Regions from separate parts of the Homo sapiens genome. Here all the other regions are linked to region 2. Evidence: promoter capture Hi-C in 16 types of primary human blood cells and fetal thymus (Javierre and others, 2016). All regions are on one chromosome and are shown on one strand. Each heading gives the region's core, a stretch centred on a gene start or on the middle of the fragment in contact. The rest is flanking DNA. Distances are from core to core; before and after follow the strand shown.

What was found. Contacts are between HindIII fragments. The CHiCAGO score rates a contact against its expected background, and 5 or more counts as called.
Region 1: a fragment that was not itself captured here is called in contact with the fragment with the promoter of RBPMS2 in region 2 in 1 of 17 cell types (endothelial precursors); the score reaches 5.8 in endothelial precursors.
Region 3: a fragment that was not itself captured here is called in contact with the fragment with the promoter of RBPMS2 in region 2 in 1 of 17 cell types (endothelial precursors); the score reaches 5.8 in endothelial precursors.
Region 4: a contact is called between a fragment that was not itself captured here and the fragment with the promoter of RBPMS2 in region 2, in 2 of 17 cell types (M0 macrophages and endothelial precursors). The highest score is 5.9, in M0 macrophages.
Region 5: a contact is called between a fragment that was not itself captured here and the fragment with the promoter of RBPMS2 in region 2, in 4 of 17 cell types (M1 macrophages, M2 macrophages, naive CD4 T cells and 1 more). The highest score is 7.0, in M1 macrophages.

The regions. Positions count from the first base shown.
Region 1 is chr15:64,967,552-64,970,251 of GRCh38, reverse strand. SPG21 (SPG21 abhydrolase domain containing, maspardin) reads left to right here. Exons shown (of 9, transcript NM_016630.7): 6 at 30-138; 7 at 890-997. Among named protein-coding and RNA genes, the nearest start is that of SPG21, 21 kb to the left of the region's middle. The HindIII fragment of the contact is 525 bases long and covers 1,005-1,529 here.
Region 2 is chr15:64,774,185-64,776,884 of GRCh38, reverse strand. It overlaps RBPMS2 (RNA binding protein, mRNA processing factor 2), which reads left to right and starts at 1,296. Exons shown (of 8, transcript NM_194272.3): 1 at 1,296-1,652. The coding sequence starts at 1,566. RefSeq lists enhancers at 1-588, 589-1,435 and a silencer at 871-1,120. The HindIII fragment of the contact is 6,915 bases long and covers 1-2,700 here.
Region 3 is chr15:64,945,623-64,948,322 of GRCh38, reverse strand. ANKDD1A (ankyrin repeat and death domain containing 1A) reads right to left here. Exons shown (of 15, transcript NM_182703.6): 13 at 730-919. Among named protein-coding and RNA genes, the nearest start is that of ANKDD1A, 35 kb to the right of the region's middle. RefSeq lists enhancers at 356-856, 857-1,357. The HindIII fragment of the contact is 240 bases long and covers 1,298-1,537 here.
Region 4 is chr15:65,008,378-65,011,077 of GRCh38, reverse strand. All of the region lies in intron 6 of MTFMT (mitochondrial methionyl-tRNA formyltransferase), which reads left to right. Among named protein-coding and RNA genes, the nearest start is that of SPG21, 20 kb to the right of the region's middle. The HindIII fragment of the contact is 1,049 bases long and covers 822-1,870 here.
Region 5 is chr15:64,925,074-64,927,773 of GRCh38, reverse strand. ANKDD1A (ankyrin repeat and death domain containing 1A) reads right to left here. Exons shown (of 15, transcript NM_182703.6): 5 at 1,604-1,708; 6 at 775-873. Among named protein-coding and RNA genes, the nearest start is that of ANKDD1A, 15 kb to the right of the region's middle. The HindIII fragment of the contact is 3,928 bases long and covers 1-2,700 here.

The DNA.
Region 1 (2,700 bases), core at 18-2,517, 190 kb before region 2:
TTAAATTATAAGGTCTTTGTGTTTTACAGCTTTTGGCTGATGCCTGCATTTATGCTCAAAAAAATAGTTCTTGGAAATTTTTCATCTGGCCCGGTGGACCCTATGATGGCTGATGCCATTGATTTCATGGTAGACAGGGTAAGGATCATGACATTGGGTTGGGGACACATTGTATTGGGAATTTTCACATCTACTTGGTTCCAGAAGATAGATCTGTCTCACAAGTATGTGTAAGAGGTATTTGCTAAGCAGAGTAATACATCTGAGCAGATATTATTGCTGGTAAGGGCTTGCCTACATCAGTGCTTCCCACCAGCTATTCATCAAAATCACTTAGGGGAGCTTTCAAAAATACAGATTGTAAGGCCTCACAGCAGATCATCCATCTGGAATCCCTGGGCATGGGATCTGGGAATCTATTTTTACTTCACACTTTTCCTCTACCCACCAGGTAAATCTGATGAACCAGGTCTGTTGGCTTGCATTTAGGAACTGCTGGGCTAGATGATTTCTCAAATCTCTTTTAAGATCCCTTAAAGGTTTATCTTAAAAAAAAAAAAAAAACAAAAACATATATCTGTCACCTTTGAGCAGTAGGAATTGGCTTGCTGCCCATGGGCACCTGGCTGGAGTAGGCAGTGTAGGCTGAGGGCTGTAGAAGGCCGGGTTTCATTGGTTTGTACCCAGGTTTCCAGAATAGAAAAATGCCACAACCTCCTGAGAAGCCCAGTTCATGGTCTCTCACCTAAGTTGTGGTTCCTCACTGATGACTTTTCTGGCCCCACCACAGATGATACCACCTTTATAAGCACAAATGTTGTCTGTGGATTTAATGTAAATGTGAAAAACAAAATTATTTCAAAAACTTTACCTGTGTTTCTTCCTGCAGCTAGAAAGTTTGGGTCAGAGTGAACTGGCTTCAAGACTTACCTTGAATTGTCAAAATTCTTATGTGGAACCTCATAAAATTCGGGACATACCTGTAACTATTATGGATGTAAGCTTCCTTTTAAGTAAAATAGCTGCTTTACTTTTTAAAATGTGTATGTCAAGATCTCCTATAAAACTATTTGATAACTTTCAATGTACCTCTTCAAATGCTGCCTTGGCTTTTGTTTTTACCCTCCAGCTTTCTCAATTCCAAAATAATCTGTTTATTGCTTATCTTGGATTTCTTTCTGGCAGGAATAACACCATTGAAATCAAAATAGGCCGAGCACAGTGGCTTATGCCTGTAATCCCAGCGCTTTGGGAGGCTGAGGCAGGAGGATTGCTTGAGTCCAAGAGTTCAGGACCAGCCTGGGCAACATAGTGAGACCCTGTCTGTATTTATTAAAAAAAAATAAAAATAAAAATGAATCAAAATAAATTTAAACAAGGGAGTCTACCCATTTGATGTATTTTTGCTGTTCTCATCAATAGATATTGCACCATATATTGCACATATATGGGCAGCAAAGAGAAGGTGCTTCACAAGGGTAACAAGGGTAGAGAATCAAGAATTCCATAGTTTAATTACCACAAAAGCTTGCTTATTTTTTTATTGTGGTAAAATGTACATTTAAAATATGCCATTTTAACCATTTTTAAGTGCATAGTTCAGTGGCATTAAGTATATTCACAGTTCGGCAACCATCACCATTTTCACAACATTTTCATCATTCCAAGAAGAAATTGCATACCCATTAAACAATAACTCCTGTTCCCTTTCTTCCCCCGGCCTCTGATAATCAACGGTTTTATTTTCTGTCTATAAAAATTTACCTATTCTAGAACCTCATATAAGTAGAATCATACAACATTTATCCTTTTGTGTGGCCATTTCACTTAGCATAATGTTTCACAAGACTTATCTTGAAATGTTATACATGTGTCAGAATGTCATTTCTTTCTTTTTTTTTTTTTTTTTTTGGAAACAGGGTCTCACTCTGTTCCCCAGGCTGGAGTGCAGTGGTGCAATCTCAGCTCACTGCAACCTCTGCCTCCCGGGCCCAAACAATCCTCCCTCCTCAGCCTCCTTAGTAGCTTGGACCACAGGCTCACACCACTACGTTCGGCTAATTTTTTGTAGAGATGGGGTTTCACCATGTTGCCCATGCTGGACTCAAACTCTGGGACTCAAGCTGTCTGCCTGCCTGGGCCTCCCAAAGTGCTATGACAGGCATGAGCCACCACGCCCAGCCTATTTCTTTTTAAAGCTGAATAATATCTACCAATAAAACCAATGTTGGTTTATACCACATTTTGTTTATCCATTCATCCGTCAGTGGTCACTTGGGTTGTGTTCAGCTTTTGGCAATTGTGAATAGTGCTTCTATGAACATTGGTGTAAAAGTATATGTTTGGGCAGGGCACAGTGGCTCATTCCTGCAATCCCAGCACTTTGGGAGGCTGACTCAAGAGGATTGCTTGAGCCCAGGAATTCGAGACCAGTCTGGGCAATACAGGAGACCCTGTCTCTACTACTAATAAAGAAAATTAGGCCGGGCGCGGTGGCTCACCCCTGTAATCCCAGAACTTTGGGAGGCCAAGGCGGGTGGATCATGAGGTCAAGAGATCGAGACCATCCTGGCCAACGTGGTGAAACCCGTCTCTACTGAAAATACAAAAATTAGCCGGGCATGGTGGCACACACCTGTAGTCCCAGCTATTCGGGAGGCTGAGGCAGGAGAATTGCTTGAATCTGGGCGGTGGAGGTTG
Region 2 (2,700 bases), core at 47-2,546:
TCCAGCTTTTCTTTTTTCTTTTCTTTTTTTGAGACGGAGTTTCGCTCTTGTTGCCCTGGCTGGAGTGCAATGGCAAGATCTCGGGTCACCGCAACCTCCGCCCCGTCCAGGAGAAGGGGCACTGAGGAGGGACCCAGTTCTCCCGCGGCTCTGCCGGATTCAGGCTGCAGCGCTTCCAGCGCTCCCCGAGGTGGGTGCGGGTTTCTACTGTGGCAGCAGGGCGGGCCCCCATCGGCTGGGTTTTCAAATAGAAGAGAAAACCGACCCAGAGGCCGCGCCCTACTGACCTGCGCGGGGGTGCGGGGGGAGTCACGACGACCTCCCCCACCTCCCCCAGCCTCTAGGCTATTACATCCGTCCCCAGCCTTCGGGCTCAGAATAGGAGGCAGGGAAAGGTGTGAGGGGCACTGAGGTCGGGGGAGGAGCGAGAAGACCCGAAAGCCAGGCGTGTTGAGGGCAAGGTGGGCAACAGAACCTTCTTGGTCATTCGAGGCAGCCCTCGCTAATGACCATTGGGGTCCCAACACTCGAATCCCCACCTAAGTCCTATTCAGATAGTGACTGGGAGTGGGAAGGGAGTTTGAGATCCTAAGTCCCACCCTCTGGGCTGGGAGCCTGAGGCCAGAGAGGGGAAGTGATTTCCTCAAGGTCACTCAGCAAAACAGCGCCCAGCCCGGGCCAAAGCTCAGGTGTCTCCCAACCCCCTCCCCCCGGCCATCACCCCCAGAACTCGGTCCCCCGGAGCTGAGGTCTGCGCGACTGGATTTAGGGGCAGAATGAGTGCGTCGGGAACCCCAAAACCCTAGATCAAGATACAAGGGGAGTCGACGGCCCGGAAACCTCGCTGCGGGTGCCCTAAGCGCGAGGCCGCCCGGGCAGGGCCGCCCAGGGACCGGGGCGCTGGGTGCGGGGCACGGGGCTCCACCTCCCGCGGGCTGGGGCGCGCAGCGCGCGGCCCCTTTAAGAAAGTTCGCCGGGCGAGTTCATCAAAGTTTAAAAACTCGCCGTGGAGAAGGGCGCGGGGGAAGAGGAGAGAGGGAGAGCGCTGACCCAGGCGAGAGAGAGGGGAAAGGCCCGGCCGGAGGCCGGCGCCCCGCGGCCGGGGCCGGGGCGAGCCCACGGTGGGCGGTGGGGATTGGCTGCGCGTTCCCCCGGAGACCGCGCGGCGGGCGGGGGAGGGGGCTGGCCGGGCCCCAGCTGAGGCCGGTTCCGGCCCCGCCCCCCGCCGCCGGCGCCCGCCCCCTCCCCCGGCGCCCGCCCCCCGCCGCCGCTGCCGCCGCCGCCGCCGCCGCGGCGCACTCGCCGGTCGCAGTGAAAAGGCGGAGGCGGCGGCCCCTCCGGCTCCCACTGCCTCCCCCGCCGCACCCCCTCCCCACCTTCCGCACCCGCCAAACTTGATGTGACCCTGGCCCGACGCGGAGGCTGCCCCTCTCACTGCCCCGTGGGTCCCCCGCCACCCGCTCCGCACCCGCGAGCGCACCGCTCCCCGCGCCCCTTCCCACTTCCCGCGGGGCCGGCGCCGCGCTCGCCCTCGCGTTCCTTCCCGCCGCCCCCTCCCCCGCACCATGAGCAACCTGAAGCCGGACGGCGAGCACGGCGGCAGCACCGGCACCGGCTCCGGCGCGGGCTCCGGCGGCGCCCTGGAGGAGGAGGTGGGTCTGTGGCCCCGGGACTTGCCGGGTGAAGCGCACGCCAGGCGGGCGCGGGAGAGGGCGAGCGGGGCCTGCCGCGCCTCGCGGGGCCGGGGTGGCCATCGCTCCCGGCGCCTTCCCGCCGCTGCCCTCTCGCCCGGGTAGGAGCGGCCCGTGTCCGCGGGCGGGAGCGTGCGGCCTGGACTGCCCCGCCGGACAGGCATTGTCTCCCCGCCCTCTCGGGCTCGAGGCGGGCCGCGCGCGCCGGCCGCCGTCCGGGCGTCCCGCGGTGGGCGAGATGCGCCGCGTCCGTTCCATGCCTGCCGCCCGCGCGCCCCTTGCTCCCCACCCCGTAGCCGCTCGCCGCCCTCCTCCGAGGCGCACCTCCTGCGTGGCCAGGACCCCGCCTCGGCGGCACGGAGCGGAGCGGGATTAGCACGGCCCGAGGGCGGCACCCTCACTCCACTGCCTTTTCCGCCCTGACCCCCTCCCCGTGACCTTGGAGGCCTGGGCCGGCCGGCTCCTCGGTTCCTGCGAGCTGTTGTCATGGGGGTGGGCGGGCTTTCTTCACAGCCCCAGAACCTGGGCTTTGGCAGAGGTGAGCCCACAATTTAATTAGTTTGGAAGATGACTAAAGACACTCAGTTCGTCCTTCTCCTCTCTCTGGGTTTGTCCTGGCAACCAAGCCAGGACCCCAAAGCTGGCCTGGGTGGGATCCTGCCAGGAGGGGCGAAATCATCTCGTCCACCGGCCATGTGCGAAAGGGAGGGAGTGTAAGGCGGCTCCGTGGAACCACCAGCAGCTGGGTGGTTAATGGATGGTAGGGAGGATGTGTGTGCGGGGTGGGGTGCTGGATAAAAGCCTCAAAGATATCAGTGAATAGGGACGAGGAGCTAGGCTGGCGGAGACAAGAACTGGAGTAGAAGGGGACAGGCTTCGCAGGGCCTCTGGCCTCTGCTGCGTCATTCTAGGGGTGAGAGAGCCTTCCTGCCCCTGCCCTGGCATGTTCTCGCCCAGGAAACCAAGGGCTGGTTATCCACCTTGGGCGCCCTTCCCCTTGGCCTGGGGG
Region 3 (2,700 bases), core at 168-2,667, 170 kb before region 2:
TACTTTTTCTTGCCACAAATACAGAATGTCATTCCATTTACACAAGTCTTTTATAGTTGAACCATTATTGTTTTATTCATATGTGTCATCTGTATTTGTCTTTTAGGTTTTCCAGATGAAACACACACACCATTGTAAATGGAATCTCTTTTAAAAGATTCTCTCTCTATATTTTTTGCCCATTTAGCCATGGTTCATAGGAGTTCTGTGGTGTTAGTATATTTTCTATATTTAGCCATTTCCTTGAATTATTTGATTAATTCTAAGATTTTTTTAGTTGATTCCTCTGGACGTCCTATGTATATTAAGTATTCCATCTGAAATCAATAAGTCTCTCTCTTCCTTTACAATATTTACACTCCTTATTTCTATTTCCTTTTCACACCTTAGTACCAGGGCCAAAATTTCCATATAGATGTTGAATAATAGTGACAACAGCAGGCCCTCTTCTTTTTACCAAGAATGGTTTTAGTTTAGGTATAAACAGTGGGTATCAGTTTGGGCTGATTGGTGAAGAATGTGAAATTCACAATCAATGGGGAGAGGCAGAGTGTGCACCCTGTGCAGAGGCCTGGAGGAGGGACAGAGCACCAGGTGTGTTGGACAGTGTGGGACCAGGCTGTGGGTTGCACAGGCCCTTTCACCAGAAGCACAGAAAACTGAACACATTTCAGGTGTCCCACCCCTCCGCCCAATGGTTGCTTAGGGCGAGGAGAGGCAAGGTGGTACCTGTCCACTGTTGCTCGATGGCGTCGACATGTGCCTCCGTGAACTCCCAGGAATATGCCAGCTTCTTCCACTCACGGGGCTGCAGATACCTGGAGGCCAGCCGCCACAGCACAGAACGGAGCTGCTGTGTTTCCTGCCGATGGTCCTGCTTAAAGGACAAGCTCTTCCCAGAGGGATCACTGGGGTGGTCCTGTGGGGCAGATCCCAAAAGTGCAGAAGCTCTCCCTCATGATCCCAGACAGGGGCAGTGCCGAGCCGAGGCCCCTATGACCCTCCTACCACCTCTGCTGGGGTGCCTGGGAGCTGGAGTCAGCAAGGGCCAGGGGCTTAATGTCCTCTCTTCTGGTTTCTCACTCCATGCCTTGCCTTGACCTCTGGAACCCAAGTTGCTCCCACTGTTCTTCCACCCGGAATTCCTCTGCTCACCTTCCTGCCCCTCAACCTCATTGTCATAGTCAAAAGACTACCCATGTGCTACTTCCAGGGAGCCTTTCCAGATTCCTCCGGTCACCTGCCTCTCTTTCCTGTGTTCTTATAGCATGGGTGTCAGCAGAAGTACTCCGAAGCTTTGGCCAAAACCAGGCAGGGCAAGAATCGGATTTGCTGAATCACAAGGGGTAGTAAAGGGTGGGATTACAAAATCCTTTCTAGCAAAGCAGGCAATGAAATTAGAGGTTACTAAAGAATTCTGTCATAGCATAAATGATGCCCACAGAAGCCTAAGGCCCTCTAAAGGGAATGGATGCAGAGTTCTGGTTGTTAAGTTCAGGGTGAAAAAAATCATCCTGGTGTCTGCAGTTCCAAAGCTTATGTCATGGTCAACAGTCTCTGGCAATCACTGTGAGGTGAAGCTTGGTTCTCACCTGGGGTATTAAAAACTGGTCCCCTGGGGCAGTGTTTTCAGCCCCATCTGCACATTGAGACCATCTGGGAACTTTAAGAACCACTGATGTCTGGCCCCTACCTCAGAGATTCTACCTGAATTGGCCTAGGGGTCCAGGGGAGATTTGTGATTCTGACATGCAGCCACTGCCTTAGTGGTGAGGACCTGTAAAGCCTGAAGTGGCTTAGTACTCAGCACAGAGATGAATCGGCTAGTCCAACCCTCAGTATTAACATTTTGGGATTATATTTAGGAATAATCTGTTGTATGTAAAGGGGTTGTCATGTTTAAGGGAATCTAGCATATCAGTGGGAGAACATCTTATGATTCCTACTGAAATTTATCTACCAATTGATTCTGAAACAGTGATTTTTATTTGAAAGGGATAAGAAGTTTACTAAGTTTGTAAACCACATTGGAATGTTTAAGATATTTGAGATTATTTATAGGTTTAAGTTAATGGTCTTATTAGGATAATTTAAGAATTTAAGAAGCATTTGAAGTGCTTAAAAAGAAAATCTGTTATATTAAGTTTATTTATTCAGTTTCAATGTTTAAGTTAGTTTAACTAAGTTTAAACATGGGACCCAACATTACTCAAAAGACTTCCTTGAAACTGACAGGAAAAATTTACTAGTTGTATAAATAGAATAATAAGATTTATAAAATGAATTTTAAAGTTTAAGAAAAACTAGGTTTTTAAATTTGTAACTTAGCAGATTCAACACAGATGCCCCTCAACTTATGATGGGGTTATGTCTTGATAAAAATCATAATTCGGCCAGGCATGGTGGCTCACACCTGTAATCCCAGCACTTTGGGAGGCTGAGGTGGGCAGATCACAAGGTCAGAAGATTGAGACCATCCTGGCCAACATAGTGAAACCCCATCTCTACTAAAAATACAAAAAATTAGCTGGGCATGGTGGCACACACCTGTAGTCCCAGCTACTTGGGAGGCTAAGACAGGAGAATCGCTTGAACCCAGTAGGCAGAGGTTGCGGCAAGCTGAGATCGCACCACTGCACTCCAGCCTGGGTGACAGAGTGAGACTCCGTCTCAAAAAAAAAAAAAAAGTTCATATATATA
Region 4 (2,700 bases), core at 97-2,596, 230 kb before region 2:
AGTGCTGGGATTACAGGCATGAGCCACTGCCCTGGCCCTGAGTAGACATTTGTTTCAAGCAGATACATAATATGAATGGCCAGTAAGCATATAAAAGATCAGCAACTTCATCTGTCTTTAGGGATATGCAAATCAGAACCACAATGAGATACCACTTCACACCCATTAGGATGGCTATAATTCAAAAAACAGACAAAAACTAGTGTTGGCAAGGATGTGGAGAAATTTGGAAACTTCATACATTCATGGTACCATGTTTACCTCTTAAAAATGGTGCAACCTGTGTGGAAAACAGTTTGGCAGTTCCTCAAAAAGTGAAACACAGAAGTATCTTATGACCCAGCATTTCCTTTCCTAGGTTTATACTCAAGAGAATTGGAAACATTGTGCTCACACAAAAATGTGTACCCGAATCTTCATAGCAGCATTATTCAGAATGGCCAAAAAGTGAAAACAACCCAAATATCCAACTGAGGGATGCGTTAAAAAAATGTGGTATATAGCCATACGGTGGAATATTATTAATACTCAGCCATAACCATAATCACATGCTTATGACATGGATGAACCTGAAAAATATGCTAAGTGAAAAAACCCTGTCACAACAGACTACATATGTTATTATTCCATTTATATGAAATGTCCAAAATAGGCAAATCCATAGGCTGGAGGAGAGAGGATAATGGGAATTTTCTGATAATGGATGGCGTTTTTTCTGGGAGAGAGAGGTAATGAAAATGTTCTAAAAATTAGGCAAGAAAAAAACGAGTGACATTGGTTGAATGACCCTGAGTCTACTAAAAACCACTGACTTGGAAGCTTCAAAAGGGTGAATTTTCTGGTATGTGAATTACATCTCAATAAAGCTGTCAAAAAACAAAACAAAACAAAAAAACAACCCAAGATGGAAAAGAGTTGGACATGTTTGAGGGACAGAAATGAGGCTGGTGTGGCTGGAGCATAGCTGGCAAGATGGAGAGTAGCTAAGGTGAGGGGAGAAGCAAGATTGAGTAGGATTGACATCAGAGGGCCACGGCAGGGGAGTAATGGGATTAGGTATGTACATTCTTAAAAGGTTGCCCTGGCTGCTGCTAGAGAGTGGAGTGGAGGTCAGTTAGGGAATTGGTTGGGTGTGGTGGCTCACACCTGTAATACCAGCACTTTGGGAGGCCAAGAAGAGTGAATCGCTTGAGCCCTGGAGTTCCAGACCAGTCTGGGCAACATGGTGAAACCCTGTCTCTACAAAATATACAAAAATTAGCTAGGTATTGTGGGATGCACCTGTAGTCCCAGCTACTCGGGAGGCTGAGGTAGGAGGATCACTTGACCCTGGGAGGTTGAGGCTGCAGTGAGCTGTGATTCCACCACTGCACTTCCAGCCTGGATGACAGAGCAAGATCCGGTCTTTAAAAAAAAAAATTAAAAAAATAAAAAGAAGCTGCTGCGACTGTAGCCAGATGACAGATGATGGCAGTTTGGAACAATGATAATGGTGGATAAAAAGAAGTGGACATCCAGACTATGCTTGGAGATAGAGTCAGCGGAATTTGCTGATGGAATCTGGGAAATTAGAGATAGATAAATTAGGATCATTCATAGATTTTTGGCTTGAGAAACTGGGTGAATAGTGGAACCATTTAATTGAGATGAGGATGTCTGGGGAGGAACATTTGGGAAGAGAAATCAATAGTTTTGGCCATGTTAAGTTTGACATATATTAAGTTAGAAGACGTTCATATGGAGATATCAAGTAGACAACTTCCTGAGATGCAATTTAGGCCAGTAGCTTGAAATCTCTTGGCACCTATAACTTACTACATGATGATTCTTACCCTCTGCGGTTTATCTTCCCTGTACATGGAGAAAAGCTTTGTGCTATAAAAGACTGAGCCAGAAGGTGGGGTTTGGTTCCTAGAGTTGCCCTTTACTAATGAGAGGAAGGCCCTTGTCTTTGAGCTTCTGCTTTTTTTACCTCTAAAGTGGGATTAATGACCATGTACACAACTGGCAAGATCAAAGGAAATGAACTAGGTGAATGTAAATTCATGCAAACATACTATTTTGGCAGTAATGATGGCAGACACCAAAATGATTATATTCTTACCATCCCTTTCCTTTCTACAATGCTCTGATGATAAGGTGAGCTTTACCTCCCGAAGAACAAGACTATATTCTGAGTATGTACCTAGCATGTTTATTACTCTCAGTAAATAGAAATCTTTTTTAGTCAGTAAGCATGTTTCAAAAATATTTTGAGTTATTTAAAAGAAAAAAATTGCACATATGAAAATCGTTTCAGAACTTTTATTGAAGCGGGCAAAAGAAAAGTGAGCTAGCAAGTTATAGAAGAGGCTATGACATAGATACAGTTATGAACTTGTTCTTCAAATTCATTTACTTATTTGATTTAATGTTCAAATTATTACAACAACCTAACTCTTCTGAAAGTTAAATACCCTCTTTAAGGGGTGTCATAAAAAGAGCACTGCACTGAGAATCAGAAAACAGAAGCCAGTCCTGGCTTTGCTACTAACTAGCTGGGTCCAACCTTGGGAAAATAGCTGCATTTCTCTGAGCCTCACTCTCTTCATGTATGAAATAGAGGATTGAACTACAGTCTGGAAATAAATGCATTCAATTCAGAAATTTTAGAGAACTTATTTCCTGGTGTGTGTTAAATTTTATTAACATTTAAATCAG
Region 5 (2,700 bases), core at 1-2,500, 150 kb before region 2:
AATTAGCTGGGTGTGGTGGCGGGCGCCTACAGTCCCAGCTATTCGGGAGGCTGAGGCAGGAGAATGGTGTGAACCCGGGAGGCGGAGCTTGCAGTGAGCCAAGACAGCGCCACTGCACTCCAGCCTGGACGACAGAGCGAGACTCCGTCTCAAAAAAAAAAAAAAAAAAAAGGGAATTTGCTGTAACATATTTTGCCTAATGATTCACAAGGGTCCAATGATAAGAGTCATTTGCAGGGTAGACCCTCTGGTCCCCGTCCCTTACCCCTTCTCAGATTGGTGAAATCCTGCTCACAAGCCCTGAATGATATGCTACCTTCTCCATGCTCCCAACCTATTCCTGCCATAACCATAGCAGAGCAGATGTGTGGCTACCACCCCCTAACACTTCCCCACATCTGTCAACAACAGACAACCCCAGTAGATCACAGCCCTGCTCAACCCACTCCAGGCAGCACTACCAACCACCCAGATCTGCCACCCTGGCCAGCCACGTCGGATCAGAAATCCTTACTATGCCTGTGGCACTGAGTTCCTCGAGTAAGAAACGGTGTCTTGGGCATCTTTATGCCACCAACCTGTAGCACAGGGCTGGCCCATAGCACACGCTGGTGAAGGGCCTGCTGGATGAACACTAAATACACTCTCATCTTTGGGCCACACGGGCCTCCAGCGCAATCGGAGTCAGACGTGGACACAGGTGAGGAGCCAGAGCCTGGAAGGTGGCAAGTTTTGCACCCTGGTCAGGATCCCAGAGCCTCACGGACACGGTACCTTGTCTTTGACATTGTGGTCACAGCCAGAGCCCACGAGGAAGTCCAGAGCATCCAGCTGCCCGTGCTCAGCTGCCCTGTGAAACGCCGTCCTCCCCAGCTGGCCGGGAGGAGAAGCGGTGTGAGCCTTCCTCACTCTGTCAGTGGGCATACCTGCCTCTGCCCACCTGGCCTCTGTTCCCCAACCACTCTGGCTTTGTAGTGGCCTCTCCTGCCCCAGACACTGTCCTCTCCCCTTGCCTCCCCACACCCTGCCTGGAAAGCCCAGACCCAACTTCCCAACAAGAGACACTTGCTGGGGTCCCTCCCTGGCTGAAGTCCTGAGGTGGCTCCTTGCTGCCTAATGAATAAACAGATTCTTGAGGATGGGGGTTGAGATCGCCAGAGGGACCCCCAACCACCCATCAGACCTTCCCTCCTAAGATTCCAGTCCCTCAGAACTCACACTAGAGCCCTTTCCTGTCCCTAAAGCTCCCACAAGCCTCGCTCTTCCATTTGGTGCCCTCTCCAACCCCTGATTTCCAATCTTACCCACAAATCCAGTTTATTTACCAAATGCCACCTCCTCCAGGAAGCAGAAGCAATGGCTTGCTTTTCTAACCCACCTAGTCCTTGATCAAGACCTCTCTGTGGCAACTGACTGTGTTCTGCTTGTATTCTGCTCATTTGCGCCTCAACACCTCTTCCCAACCAGCGGCTCCCCAGGCCAGGTGCAATATGCCCACAGATCAAAGGATGCACCCAAGGAATGTGGTAAGCCCAGTGTGCAAGAGTGGCCCCAGGAGCCCCCCGCCCAATGGGAATGATGAGTAGCCCTGAGGCACTCTCACCTTGTCTACGTGGTCCAGGGCCACATCCTCCAGGTCCTCCATTATGAACGCCAGCACAGGCACATGGCCTTTTTGGGCTGCGCAGTGCAGTAAGGTCAGGCCATCCTGGAAACAAGTGCAGGAGGGTTCCTGCAGTCTGTGAAGGGAGGCCCTTTTCACACACTGCCAGTCTCCCAAACAGCGAGTGTTTGGGACCCAGAACACAGCCTCCCCATGGATACAACACTGTAAATGATGAATGGACCCGAGGGATAACCCACTCTGCTGCCCACTTAGCCTTAGGGGGGCTGGCAGGAGTCGGGATGCCAAAATTCAAATCCCAGCTCCAGCACCCCTCAGCTCCGGAGTCTCGGGCCAGTTACCTCCACCTCTCTGAGCCTCCACTTTCACACAGGACAAACTAGCATCATAATCCCCGACCACTTCAGTGGGTGGTTGAGAGGACTGGACCTACAGGAAAGGTATTTTATCAACTGAAAATTAATTCAAACATGTACGGTGAGGTCGTGTAGCACTAGTAGCCTCCAGAACAGTTAAGAAGGTTCTAGGTATCTGCCTTCCTTGATACAGCTGCTAATGAAGAAGCAGGTGACCAAGTGACCAGTGTATGTCACTAGGAAGTGACCTCCTCACCTTCTAGGGCAGATTAAGAGCAGATGTGGTCTGCAGGGAGTAGAGGGAAGTGGCCTGGGTTGGGGGTGGACAGGAAGAAGGTCTCTGGGGCCTAGAAGCAAAAGGAAGGAGACTTGCAAATACTATGTTTATGCCCCAGAGCTTCTACTCCTGCCTTGTATTAAGGTCAGATTATTTGAAGTCCTGTTTGCAACCCATCAGTGGGTCATAAAAATCAGTACAACAGTGTTTTACATCTTGACAGTGGTCAAATCTCAGTGAATATAAATTTTCAATATGTGTACTTCTTTTTTTTTTTTTTTTTTTTTTTGAGTCGGAGTCTCACTCTGTCTCCCAGGCTAGAGTACAGTGGTGCGATCTCGGCTCACTGCAACTTCCACCTCCTGGGTTCAAGCAATTCTCCTGCCTCAACCTCCCGAGTAGCTGGGATTACAGGCAGCCACCACCACGCCCGGCTAATTTTT